Linked DNA regions of Homo sapiens: regions 2, 3, 4 and 5 are each linked to region 1. Evidence: promoter capture Hi-C in 16 types of primary human blood cells and fetal thymus (Javierre and others, 2016). All regions are on one chromosome and are shown on one strand. Each heading gives the region's core, a stretch centred on a gene start or on the middle of the fragment in contact. The rest is flanking DNA. Distances are from core to core; before and after follow the strand shown.

What was found. Contacts are between HindIII fragments. The CHiCAGO score rates a contact against its expected background, and 5 or more counts as called.
Region 2: a contact is called between a fragment that was not itself captured here and the fragment with the promoter of OSBPL10-AS1 in region 1, in 4 of 17 cell types (non-activated CD4 T cells, naive CD4 T cells, activated CD4 T cells and 1 more). The highest score is 6.9, in non-activated CD4 T cells.
Region 3: a fragment that was not itself captured here is called in contact with the fragment with the promoter of OSBPL10-AS1 in region 1 in 2 of 17 cell types (naive CD8 T cells and total CD4 T cells); the score reaches 5.6 in naive CD8 T cells.
Region 4: a contact is called between a fragment that was not itself captured here and the fragment with the promoter of OSBPL10-AS1 in region 1, in 5 of 17 cell types (total CD4 T cells, megakaryocytes, activated CD4 T cells and 2 more). The highest score is 6.5, in total CD4 T cells.
Region 5: a contact is called between a fragment that was not itself captured here and the fragment with the promoter of OSBPL10-AS1 in region 1, in 3 of 17 cell types (total CD8 T cells, megakaryocytes and naive CD4 T cells). The highest score is 5.6, in total CD8 T cells.

The regions. Positions count from the first base shown.
Region 1 is chr3:31,702,865-31,705,564 of GRCh38, forward strand. It overlaps OSBPL10-AS1 (OSBPL10 antisense RNA 1), which reads left to right and starts at 1,349. Exons shown (of 5, transcript NR_049771.1): 1 at 1,349-1,375. The region is part of intron 6 of OSBPL10 (oxysterol binding protein like 10); the gene reads right to left. The HindIII fragment of the contact is 3,023 bases long and covers 1-1,801 here.
Region 2 is chr3:30,963,946-30,966,645 of GRCh38, forward strand. No RefSeq gene overlaps it. Among named protein-coding and RNA genes, the nearest start is that of GADL1, 71 kb to the left of the region's middle. The HindIII fragment of the contact is 552 bases long and covers 1,069-1,620 here.
Region 3 is chr3:30,927,591-30,930,290 of GRCh38, forward strand. No RefSeq gene overlaps it. Among named protein-coding and RNA genes, the nearest start is that of GADL1, 34 kb to the left of the region's middle. The HindIII fragment of the contact is 5,467 bases long and covers 1-2,700 here.
Region 4 is chr3:30,781,918-30,784,617 of GRCh38, forward strand. The region is part of intron 13 of GADL1 (glutamate decarboxylase like 1); the gene reads right to left. Among named protein-coding and RNA genes, the nearest start is that of GADL1, 110 kb to the right of the region's middle. The HindIII fragment of the contact is 2,360 bases long and covers 246-2,605 here.
Region 5 is chr3:30,759,114-30,761,813 of GRCh38, forward strand. The region is part of intron 14 of GADL1 (glutamate decarboxylase like 1); the gene reads right to left. Among named protein-coding and RNA genes, the nearest start is that of GADL1, 130 kb to the right of the region's middle. The HindIII fragment of the contact is 328 bases long and covers 1,240-1,567 here.

The DNA.
Region 1 (2,700 bases), core at 99-2,598:
AACTTGCACAATCCAGGCCACTTCATATCTAATATAAATTTTTCTGTTTATAAGTAAAAGTTGGATTATCCAGGGACTAAAATTATTTATGGAAAAACGTGCTCTAAGACTATTTCTACCCAAATCAATTAGGATCACTCTAGCAGGTATAAGAAAATGCTGAGAATTGGCATTAATTTAGGGAGGAAGACAACAAATGAAAATTTAAGGCAAAACTGAAACTTTATGATACTACTGGGATTCACACTGGCCAACATACCCTGCTTTCCTCGATGCAAGTTTATTAATTCAATCACTCAATTCCAATTTTTCACATTACATAGAAAACAGGCAACTTAATAAACTGGGCAAGGGGATTATTGCACATAAAATTTTCCAGTATCCAAGTATTAAGGACTCTGGTTACAAGGTTAACTTGCCCTCAGAATTCTATTGAAAGAAGTATCCACATTCCACACTCCACATTTACCTATGTTCTTATGATGCTTGCTTACATATAAGCAAAAGCACTCTGCACAGAACATTATACATTTCTTTCCAATTATCAATAACAGGTCAGACATAATATACAGAAATTCAGAAGCTCAAAGATGTTAAACATGAAAGGATACAGACTTGTCCAAATGTCCATGCAAAAAACGAACAATTTACTAACCTCATTAGACAGAATCATCTTATATCTACAGGCACTTCTAACATACAAAGGTTATTTTAGTGGTCAAGGTGTTTAAAATTGTCTGGCCTTACATACCCACACGGACCATTCCTTTCCAACATTCCAAAGAGAGGTAATAACGGTGTTCCTTCCCTCCTGGGGTAGGCATTTTTAAAACTTCAACGTAAATAGACGTTTTCCACAGACATACTCCTAAGGTGTTCTCAATCAGCTCTAAATAACCCCAATTCTAAAGAGATGGTTGGGAAGATCTCAGTGAAGCCCACAGGATATTCCCCCAGCCAAAAGCTGAGTTTTCTTTTATTATGTGCCCAGTTCTCTAGCCACCTCATAATGGGTATTATCTGACGTCATTGGCAAGTTGCTTTGCTAGATTATGCTGAAATAATTGAGGAATCCTTACCTATGCTAACCCTGAGAGGAAGAGCCAGAGAGGGAAGTCTCTGAGCTGTGAGCTACCCTGATTCTACACTGGGAAGTTAGGGGTAGAAGCACACAGGAGCCCAGCACTTACAGCCAGTGGCCCTGGGGGTCTCCTCCAGCTCCACCTCATGACACCCCGTGCTGCTGCGTGACTGCTCCTGGTGCCAAGGCCACCGCTGCCATGAGTCTGAATGGCTAATGCTGAGATTAGCAGGGCCTCCCTTCTACTGGCCTGTCCTCCTGGCTCTCCTCCCTTTTGCCTCTTCTGGATTTCAGGTCAGTTTGAAAGTGGGTGGCTGTCTCAGCTCCCTGTGAGCTTCCATTTCCAGTCTACGCTACGGAAGTCAGAGAGCTCAGACACAAATCCCTCCCAATGGCAAAGGTGCTATAGCTGCAACTTCCTCTGCAGTGACCCGGTGGGCAGTAATCTGTATTAGCAGAATTCCTCTCATGCCAGCACCAGCTGGGGGAGGAGAGGGTAGTGCCTGGGCATTCTGCTTTGGGAAGAAAAAGGACAATCAAAACCAAGTGAAATCCAACCACCATGGTGTACCCAACAGGTGGAGTGGGCTGCAAAGTCCTTAAACATCTCAACAGGAGAAGTAGCTCCATTTTGCGGGCAATTATTTTCTGCTTGAAATTAGCTGTTCTCACCAAGAATGGACTGCATACTAAATCAATTGCTCCACTGAGGCTGCCATAAGCTTCATGAAGCAAAGAATGATTCATTCTTCTAAAGCTGTGATTTCCTATTTGCTCACAAGCCATTGCAGGGGAAATCCTCATCTTTCCCACTCACTGCTACACTCACTGTGATGTGTTTATAGACCTTCGGGGACCACACCTCCTCCAGCTGTCTGCCTTACTCGAAAATTAGACCCAGCTTGTCCCTGACTTCTAGTAGCCAGAAAGTCTTCCACAAGATCCAGCCGCATGATACGGAGTACACACATAAATGTGAAAACAAACCCCTCCATCCTTTCCCACTGTAAATCAACAGCACATGCCCTCTGTGTCTGACAATTCCTCTCAAAGACAGTGGCTCCAGCAGAGGAAATTAAGGCTGGTGCAGGTGCCCCAGAAGCTGAGTCATCCGGGATGACTGGTGGCCCTGAAGTCCCGCCCACAGAAGGACGGCCATGGGAGCCTGGCACACTGCCCCTTGGTGGCACAAATCCTGAGCAAGCCATGCCCTAACCTTAAACAAGGACCTAGGACTGTTTTCTCTCCCACAGCCTCTGAGAACTTGCCCTTTCTCTCCCAATGTGATTTGTAAACAATTCTCCTACCCAGCCTCAAGTAAATATCAGAGTTAAGCTGGTTTCATACACCATGTTGACAGTAAACATCTTAGAGGACACTTTCAATCCACCCACACTGCAGCTCAGTCCATCTGCACAAAGAGAAGACCCCCCCCCCCACCCCCATCGCGGTCCAACTTGGGGGTACATAGATGGAAAGGCAGCAGTAGTCAGCAGGTCAACTCTGTCTGAAAGAGGTCCATGGCAATGTAAATACCAATCTACTGGCAACCACAAAGCACCCACATAGACAGGCACTGCAAGGAATGGAGGGTTTGAAGAAGCAGGTCTTGATGGAGT
Region 2 (2,700 bases), core at 95-2,594, 740 kb before region 1:
TCTAGGCCTCAAAGAAACAGGCCAGAGGAAGATTTCTATTGATGATACTCGTGGAAAAAGATGTGACCACTAGTCCTTTCAAAAGGATCATAACAGATATTGATTCTTAGTTTGGGAGTTTGCCTCATTAAAATACCAAACAGAATTCTACGGGGAATGGGCTATATTGATTGGTTTGTTTTGTTTTATAGGTTTGTTTCCTATGTAACATGTAATTGTATTTTATAGTTGCTATAGTATGCAAGAATTAAAGACCTAATCTGGCTAAACAAGAATTGGCTTATAAATTATGAAACATTCTTTCCCATCAAACTTCTAGATAATTAAACAAAAATTTAGGAAATGTTATCTTTGCTGATTGTTTTGTATTGTGGTAAGAGATAGAAGAAGATAAACTTTTTTTTTCTTCTTGTCACTGTTTAATTTTCTTAGCAATTAAGCCACTAGTAATGAGTTTAGGGATTTCAGAGAAGACTGTTTTTTTCTGAGGTCTATTAAACTGTCTTTTTTTTAAACATGATTTTGCTTCTAAAATTTGAAAATGAGTTGCCATCCAATGGCATGATGGAGGCAGCACAGGTTCTGAAAGTATTCAGACTTAAATTCAAACTCTGTATTTTCCCTTCTGTTTCAACTAAGGCAAGTTACTGAATGGGATATTTTGAGATTTTAGAAAGTTGTTCTTCTGTACACAAGTAGATTTAAAATAATCACTTCTTCCTCCATCTTTTCAGTAGATAGATTGTACTTCAGGTGCTTTGATTCTGCACTTGGCCATCTGACATGCTTTGGCCAATGGGAGTTTAGCAGACATGCTGTAAGCAACATCTTGAAAAATGCTTGCATGTTTGGGCTTGCTCTCTTAGTCTTCTGCCACAGCTGTGAGAACATGTATTAGCCACCTGATTCCAAGAAAAGAAACAGAAACACCTAGAGCAGAGCCACTCACAGCCAACCACAACCTAGATTGGCTGACTCACAGCCAGCCCTTATATTTGTGAATTAAATAAGTGATTATTGCTGTATGGTGCTGGGATTTGTATCACAGTTAACTGATATAGCCTCTCAAGCTTCCTTTACGCATTACCTTCTCCCATTGTTCATGAGGATGGTTCTCTATATGTATTGCCCTTACAGATGAGAAAACACACAGCCAAGAAAAAAGATCAGTTGATGTGCTGAATGCATATGTATATATACAGTAGCAAAACCATTCTTTCTCTCTGCAAGAGTCAAGTTTGTTGAGACAGGAAAGAATTTATGGTTTCCAAGAAGTAGCACCCTGGAAGACTAAGAACATAGCTTTTATACTATAAAACGTATGCTAGGGAATAGTGCTACTAAAATAGAATAGACCACAAGAAAATAAGATGACAGACAGAAGGAGCAAAGATCTGTTGGGAGGTGGCTAGAATTCAGATACAAGAGACCTTAAGAGGGGCTAGCTGAGTCTAACAAAAGAAAGATGAGGAAAAAGCCTAAGTAGGATTTATTTGTGGGTTCTTTTTCTCTTTCCTTTGTTTAAGCCCAATACTACAACTTTCTTTTGGAACTCAAACATCTAATGTGGCACTATATACTATAGATTCACAGTGGCTGAGGGAGTTATCAAGGTAGATAAGCTTAGAGAAGCCTCATAAAACCTACCTACTTCAGTGATAGGTGGTAAAAATAGGCAATGGGTTTGCATTTCATCCTGGGGAATCCTTGTACGTGAGCACAAGGAAGTGGTGATGAGCTAGAAGAGAAGAAGAGACCAGAAAAACTGGAAAAGGAGCACATGGAGACAAGGATCTCAGTACAGATGCTAGGGCTTAAAAATGGGAATACGTCTTAAGCAGAGAAAATGGGATCTTTTCTGGATTGAAGAGTGTTAGCCATTAAGTTCTCAAGTCCCTGTCTTATTTGACATTATCCAAGAAAGAAGCAGAACACAGGAAAATTTTCACATCTGAGGATAACACTAAGGTTTTCTGAGTAATAAATAACAAGTATAAGGAAGCTATAGAAAGATCCCATGAAATCGAGGGCTAAAAAGTGGCAGGTGATACTCAATATTGATGAGAGTCTGATAAAATGTTTCAGGAAAATGATCCTTTACATGAAACAACTTCAAAAGTGTCTCTATAGCCCGTTGATTTATAAATGATTAAAAAGTCAGCCCATGAAGACAAAAAATGGGGAAGACAATATTAGAGAAAGGTGGAAAATGATAAATGAGTGTTAAGTAACTTGGCAAAAAAATAAAGCGTGCCGGTAATGTGAAAGCATATTCAGATTGTGGAGCCCAAAAACCCCCGAAAGCAGAGCTGCCAGATGAAGGGTAGGGCAGACAGCAGAAGAACTGGTAAAAAGCTTATATCAGGAGATCCTCTCTCCTGAACCCTCAGCTACCAAATGGCCTCCTCCTACCAGAGACAGAGACAGAATATTTTTCTCTAAATAAATTCAATGAGGGTAGGTCCAGTTCCTGTATGGCGAGGCACCATATTGAAAACAGAGAGCTAAGGAAATAGCTACATAATTAACAGGCATATCCCCATCCTTCTCTACCCGTTTACAGCATGCTAGCCTACAAGTCTGTAAGTACTAGGCAGGTGATTGGAAATATTTCCTGTAGAAATAGATTAACCCTGGAGAAAGACCCACAGATTTCCCTATTGCAAATGTCATGCCTGATTCAGCTTCATTGAAACACAA
Region 3 (2,700 bases), core at 169-2,668, 780 kb before region 1:
ATTTGTGTTGTTGGACTGTATAAATAAAACTTACCATATGCTGCTTTTAAAAGACATAATCATCAGAATCGAATAAATCTTGTAAAACATGTAGGTGCTCTACACTAAAATCTAGAAAACTTTATTGAGATAATTACCTAAGACCTACATTAATATATAGACACACCATATTCAATAATGAAAAATAATCTATATGATAGAGATGTCAATGCCCTCTAATCTGGAGAATGCTGCATGTTCTAATGTTGGCAAATAACTAGTGAGCTCGCTGTCAGGTCACCTCTGACCTGGTGGCACAGAACTCTAGCTATGGACGAATCTAAAGTCTTGAAATGCATGGTTTAGAAGTCTTTATAAAGTACCCTTTCTGGGGAAAAAGTAGGCAACTGAGAACAGAAAAGTGTCTTAGAAGGAAAAAAAAAAAACCCAACTGGCAGAAATTGGGACTTATAGAACAAATGGGTACAACAGAATCTGAATGTACCTCAACCCTTCTACTCCCCCACAAATGCCACATATTAAAGAAAACGCACCTCACTGCCCTGACAGAAGAGGGCGCTCATTTTTTGTTTGTTTGTTTATTTGTTTTTGAGATAGAGTCTCGCTCTGTTGCCCAGACTGGAGTGCAGTGGCGCTATCTCAGCTCACTGCAACCTCCACTTCCTGGTTTCAAGGGATTCTTCTGCCTCAGCCTGTCATGTAGCTGGGACTACAGGCACATGCCACCATGCCCAGCTAATTTTTGTAGTTTTAGTAGAGACAGGATTTTGCCATGTTGGCCAGGCTGATCTCAAACTCCTAACCTCAAGTGATACACCCGCCTCAGCCTCCCAAAGTGCTGGGATTACAGACGTGAGCTACCGTGCCCAGCTGAGGGCACTCTTACACTAAGAAACCTGTGAGCCATCCAAACCCTTTGCTGTTTTTTTTAATTGATGATCCAGTTAAATCCAGACATTTAAAGACAAGATAGGCAACATCCATATAAAGCAATTATAACAAGAACAAAGAAAATGGGAATTGTTCTTACCTGATGACCATGATCTAAAAAAAGAAACAGCAGAATAAAACTGTAAAACAACACTGCAACGTGATATGTCATGAATAAGTATTTGCAAATATGAGAACACTTCCAATAAGAAATGTCGACTAGGATAAGCAGAAAATAGGAATGTGAAATCATCAAACTCAGAAAATAACTTGAATTTAGGCCGGTCATGGTGGCTCATGCCTGTAATAGTTCAGGAGTTTGAGACCAGCCTGGCAAACATGGTGAAACCCCATTCCTACTAAAAATACAACAACAACAAAAAAAATTAGCCGTGCGCAGTGGTGCACGCCTATAATCCCAGCTACTCGGAAGGCTGAGGCACGAGAATCGCTTGAGCCTGGGAGTCTGAGATTGCAGTGAGCCAAGATTGTGCCACTGCACTCCAGCCTGGGTGACAGAGTGAGACTCAGTCTCAAAATAAAATAAAATAATATATATATATCAGACTAAATATCAAACTCCCTAAGGGGAAATGAAATCGATTAAAAATAAGGAGCTCTGATGAGATGAACGAAAACAGTTATAAGAAAGTGAAACAAAGGATCCAAGAGCCAGTACAAATATTCTTGAAATAAATATAATTGGAATCCATGAAGAAGAAAAAACAATGGGATATAACTAATATTTTAAAACATCATCCAAGAAAACACTCCAGAGGAAAAAAATTCTAGAATACGTATTGAAAAGGCCCACTGTGTGCTGAGAATTGTCAATTTCAAGCTATAACCTAGAAAATCATTAAATCGTAAAGATAAAGAAGAAATACCATGGATCTCTCAGTAAAACAGCAAAGTCATTTGCAAAAGACAGAAAAAAATGGTGTGTATCAAACTTCTCAATAGCAACATGCACAATTTTAAAAATTGAAGCAACATTTTCTCAAAGCTCAAAGATAGTCAGCCAAGATTTTTTTTAATCAAAGTTCTAGAATCAAAGCTATTGAAGAATAAATTTAAACATTTATGAACTGAAAGAATATTCATATGTTCTTGAAAAATTGGCTAGAGTATGACCAAGAGATGATTGGGAAAATGCTGTCAAAATTTTGAGTATATATATACTCAATAGACCCCATATTTCCATGTTATCTTTCCATACTCATATATTGAAGACATATATCGGAGACAAAAAAGTGGTGGTAATGGGGGGAAAATAGTTTGTAAATGTTGTATGTTTTGATAGAGTTGAAACAATACAACTAAAAAGTGAAAGAAAGGACCATTCAGGACATAGGCATGGGCAAAGACTTCATGACTAAAACACCAAAAACAACTGCAACAAAAGCCAAAATTGACAAATGGGATCTAATCAAACTAAAGGGCTTCTGCACAGCAAAAGAAACTATCATCAGAGTGAACAGGTAACCTACAAAATGGGAGAAAATTTTTGCAAGCTACCCATCTGACAAAGGTCTAATATCTAGAATCTACAAGGAACTTTAACAAATTTACAAGAAAAAAAACAAACGACCCCATCAAAAAGTGGGTGAAGGATATGAACAGACACTTCTCGAAAAAAGACATTTATGCAGCCAACAAACATGAAAAAAAGTTCATCACTGGTCATTAGAAAAATGCAAATCAAAACCACAATGAGATACCAGTTAGAATGGTGATTATTAAAAAGTCAGGAAACAACAGATGCTGGCA
Region 4 (2,700 bases), core at 176-2,675, 920 kb before region 1:
GTTAATTTCTTGGTACTATATTTGAAGGGAAACATTAAGAAATAATGTCCAGCGAGGGGTAACCAAGCTGTTCAAATTAATAAGCAAAGCTTTCTATGTTATAGATATTGACTAGGCATCAGGACAAGAAAATGACACTTTCTGAACTTGGAATGAATAGAGGACAGGGTGTACTGAAGAGAGGTGAAGCTAGAAACGAAGATGGGAGTCATGTCATGAAGGACTTCTCGTATGATGTACTTGGAAGCTTGGGCTTGATTCTAGAGGAACATGGAGTCACTGGAGAGTTTCACTATAGGAAATAGATCTCATCTTTGAAAAGCTGCTCTAGCAGCAGTGTGGCAGTTAGGCTGGAGGGATCTAAGACTGGAAGTGGGACACAAGTTAGCAGACAGTACCTAGATAGTACCAACCTGAAGAGTGATGAGATCTTGAACTAAGGCAGTGGCTTTGGGAGTGGAGAAGACTAAGCATTCAAGATATACTTAGCGGGGAAGAAAAGGAGATAGTAAAAACATCAAGATTTTTGGTTAGTGGATCATAGTTCTAATGACCAAAAGAAGAAAGTAGAATTTTGGTAAGGAAAATACTACACTTAAGTTTTTAGAAATGTTGAATTTGAGGTGTCTGTGGCATCTAGGTGAAAATTTCAGGAAATATTCATATACAAAGGCCTGGAGTTTAGGAGCTAAGTTGAGGATGAAGACATACAAAGAGGCTATTGATAACAAAGTTCTGAATGTGAAGACATTTCAGGGAGACTGTGGCCAAAGACAAAGTGTTAGAAGAATATTTAAGGGAGTGCCCTGATGAAAAGTCCCTTACATGGAGACTGAAAAGAACAAGTCACATGGAAAAGAGAAATTGGGAAAGGAAATCAAAGAAACTAAGACAGGGGAGACTATCAAGAGATGGAGTGATGAATGGGTAACATACAATGCTACAGAATTTCAGCAAGATGAAGATTAAAATAATGTGCTTTGGATTTAGCAATTAGGAGGTAGTTATATAGTTTTATTAGATTACAAGATAACAATGTAAGAAAAATCACAATGTGCTTGATACATATTAGTAGGTTCACTATTAGAACATGAATAATTAGAGCTATCTGGAAGAGGAATGAACTAGTGAATTCTCTGCAAATAGGAAGTATTCAATCACAGGTTGACCACCTGTTAACAGATACATTAAGACAGGTTTGCTGCATTGTGCAGGAAGTTGACTATATGTCCTCGAAGATCTTCTATAACTCAGTTGATGAAACATTAATAACTCCTCCTAGTGTAGACCTTGAGAAAAGAAAAAGTTGAATAATTAGGACTCTCCCAAGAGATAAAAAATAAAATATGTGAATTGACAGTGTAAGAATGAATATACCTCTAGGAAAACATCTATTAGATCTTAGATCCAACACAGAAAAATAGAGATGATTTTCAGGGGCCTATGAATAATTCAGAATTCACTTAAAATAATACATTTCTTGAAGATGATTGAAAGTTATTTTTATTCTTTCCAGGAAAAAATACTCAAGTACTGGGTATTGTCTTGTTATGTTCACTTACAATTTCCAATGTTCCACTTTCTCCTTGCTGTTAGACAACAGTGACACATACTCTCTCAAATACATGTACATATACATATATAGACATACAAATGCATATAAGCAAAAAGACTATCAACTTTATATGTGACATTCAGGGTCTAATTCTGCTTTATTCTCAGTGTAATAAAAAGAAAAGCGGCAAATGCAGATCACATACAAAAATCCTTACACCAGGAATTCTGGAAAACCATTTAGAAAACCACCTGCACTGCTTGTGGGCCAGCTGGCTCCCACAGATGAAAAAATCCAGGGGCAGAAGGCTGACTAAAATCCCACCTTAGCTTTCATTGCAAGGACATGAGTGTTTGCAATTTCCTAATGACGATGGTAAGTGGTTTTTCTTTTCTAAGACTTTAGGAAGAATATATAAAGAACTTTTTAATCGGCCCATCTTTTTTCTCATCACTTCCAGCTCTGTCAAAAGACTGTACAGTTTCAAGGTGTATAGGACTTTTCATAAGCACTATAGCTCCCAACACCAGAGAAAATAACACAACTCAAATTGAGAAAATAGAGGAAACTCAAACCCGAGAAAATATAAAGTGATCAAACTCAATTCAAATAGGACTGCTGTTTCTCCCATACATGCTTAGCTATCCACCACTAAAAACTATAGACATTTTCTTACATGTTTATAATGCCATTATGCCTCACAAAATTGACAATTCCTTGACACCATCTAATAGCCAGTTCATATTCAAAACTCCCCAACTGTTACAAGAATTACTTTTTACAGTTGGCTTGTTCAAACTGGGATTTCAACAAGGTCCATATGCCTTATTTGGTTATGCCTCTTCGGTCTCTTTGAACCTAAAGAGATTATCACTACTCCCTCTGTTTTCCTCACATCACCGGCCTGTTGAAAGAAACCAGGTTGTTCTGCAGAACTTCTCGCACTCTAAATTTGTTGTCTTTATAGTACTACCAGAAAGTTGTTTAATTTTTAATCATTTTGGTATGCATGCAAGATCTTCCATATGTCTAGCTTTCTAGCACTTTGGAAGCTTAGAACTTTCTAGTCTGATGCTTCCTTTGTAGATACTAGGGGAATCCATGCTCTAGATTCTCTGGAAAGTATTTCCCAAACTTCCCTGAGG
Region 5 (2,700 bases), core at 154-2,653, 940 kb before region 1:
AGTGCTGGCATCTCGTAAGGCAAATCCACAATTCGACAGGCCTCTGCAGATTGGAGCAGAAGCAGCAGCTCCCTGGGCAGCCCAGTTCTAGGGTAGGACTTAGACATCTGTCTCTTTAGCTCTCACAATGATTATGTAAATCTTTAATTATCTATAAATCTTTTTCTTCCAAAATTAGCCAGAGTATATTCTACTCCCTGCACTTGATTTCTAAACAATAGCTAAGAGGAGCTCTTGCCCTTCTTTCTGTACCTCCAGTACTTGTTCCTGCTCATAATTCTTGTTACACTGGACATTTTATTACAGTAACTCTTAGAAACATTTATCTTTTCCTCAAGTTGAAAGCTTGATGGAAGGTGCTATGTCATTTTCACCTTTGATATTTCCCATAGTGCTTGGCACAAAGCATTTGCTGAATTGAACTGAGACACGTTCCCACAGTAACACTGTGGTAAGCTAAAGCCTAATTTTGAATTGTCACTAGGTTTTATTCCACATTTTGTACATTGCTGAACTATGCCTAAACCTGTTTTTTAAAAGTGACCATCTTTATTTGTGGTAGATTAGGTTCTTCAGAAATACGCATATGTATCCTCACTACTTCACTTCCTTAGAAGTAACATTTCCCTGCTCGACTGCCACTGGGTTTGTGCATATGGCTGGATTTGGCTAACTGTAGCATAGTCTCCAATATCTTTTAAGGTTGGGCTTAGTTATGAGATTCACTATGGCCAAGCTAATGTCGGCAGATATAACAGACTCACAAAATGCTCTTATGCAGGTGGACTTGTGCTCTATGCCTCTGTCACTCATAAGAACATGCCTCAGTAAGTTGAAGAAAGATTCACGGAGCCACAGCCACTGCCAGCCAAGTCCAGCCTAAATTAGCTACCTAATATCTCCTTTTTACCTGCAGATTCATGAGTGATAAATGCTTATTGTCTCATATCACTAAAGTTTTGTGATTGTTTCACAGTATTGTCAATAAGTCATGTTTCTAGAGAAATAATTCTTTCAAAGAAAACTTGGATGTACCAGAAAGAGAAGGCATACCCTGGTATGAAGTTTAATGCTTCCCTGTAGGACACTTCCTTCCTGCACAATCATCTTCCTCGAGGTTCATCTCCTTCGTTTCCATAGCAATACATATTACTCATACCCCAGTTACTTACTGGCTTGACCTTACATCTCTTTGTGCCTTATCAATAGATGTTCCTCAATTTTTGCTTCTCTTCATTAAGCTTTAGTCTCTTTTAAATATCATTTTCAGGGACTTGTATCACTCTGTGAAACTCCTAAATTCTGTCCAACCCTGAACTTGTCATAGCCACCAACTTCTAGCTACCAACAGACTGTGTCTAGCTGGCATTCCTCCTAACATCTTACATAAAACTCTCCAAACCACATCCAGCAATATTTCCTTCTGTTTCCTCTTTCTCTTACCATCTTCCAGGCCATCTATACACAAAATCTGTTATCTTCCTCTCACCATACCAGACTCCAAATTTAATAATTACTACGTATCTTAAGTGCTCTGACAAACATTCCAAAGGATTTAGGCTAGTGAAGCTTCTAATTTGAAGGAATACTATTTGAAATCATTCTTGTAAAGCAATGAGTGGTTTTGGTTATGTGACTTGGCCCTGAATTGATTCTCTAATCTTGGGACTTCTCCACATGTTTTTCTTCAGGTGGGGGCAGGGTGATGATGGGCAGCCTGTGGAGCCTCAAATATACTGATAAAGATGTCAAGCAGTCATTTGGTAGAAAGGAAAGGACATAGGGAAACTGGCCATTCCTGCTTCAACTAGAAAATTAAAGGCTGATGTCCTGTGCTGTTCTAAAAAATCAATGGCTAATAAATATTTACCTAGACTGGCAAAACAAGGATTAAAATTTACCATGCAGAACACAACCCACAAAACATTTTGCAACTAGTATTGTATATTTTGAATGGAAAAAAGCTATCGGGTTTCATATAGGCATTTAATGAAGGATCTCTGAAGAGACCCTGGACGTAAATCTTTATATTGTATGCTTTATTTACTTTAATAAAATTCCAGCTTTCCTCTAAATCAGGCTATATTTCTATCACATTATATATTGAGAGATGTTCTATCGTGGATAGCAATGAGAATTCTGAGTCTCCAGGGAAGAAGACAGCTAGAGCCTCTCAGAGCTCCTCAACAAGCTAAGCTAAAATTGACTCAATATTGGTGAATTCTAGACACAAACAACTAAGTTAACCAAATATATGTGGGACTTATTGACAAAACAAGTAGCCAAGTCTTCTTCCAGGCACCCAGTGTCGGTGGCGCACACACATTTTCGCAGTCAATTAACTACAGAACCTGGGGGATAGATATGTTTATTTTTACTGCATGGTATATTTTAGCTCCTATACTAGCCAAATTTTTAGTGCAAAGAATTATTGAGTAAGCTTCCTTCCCTGAATCTGAAGCTGATCTTTGTTCTGTGTCCAGGAAGTCTGAGTCTAAACCAAACTTTATCCAATTGAAACTATCAATCCTCATCAGTCTGTAGTAACTTTTTAAAAAAGGAATGAGATTTTTTTAGACATATCCATTTGTGTGTGAGGGAAGTAGACAAAGTAACATCATTAGACCAGTAAGTAAAAAATCTGGAACACTTTTTCTACCTTATCACTAGAGCATCCCCTCCACCTAGTAGCTCTACCAA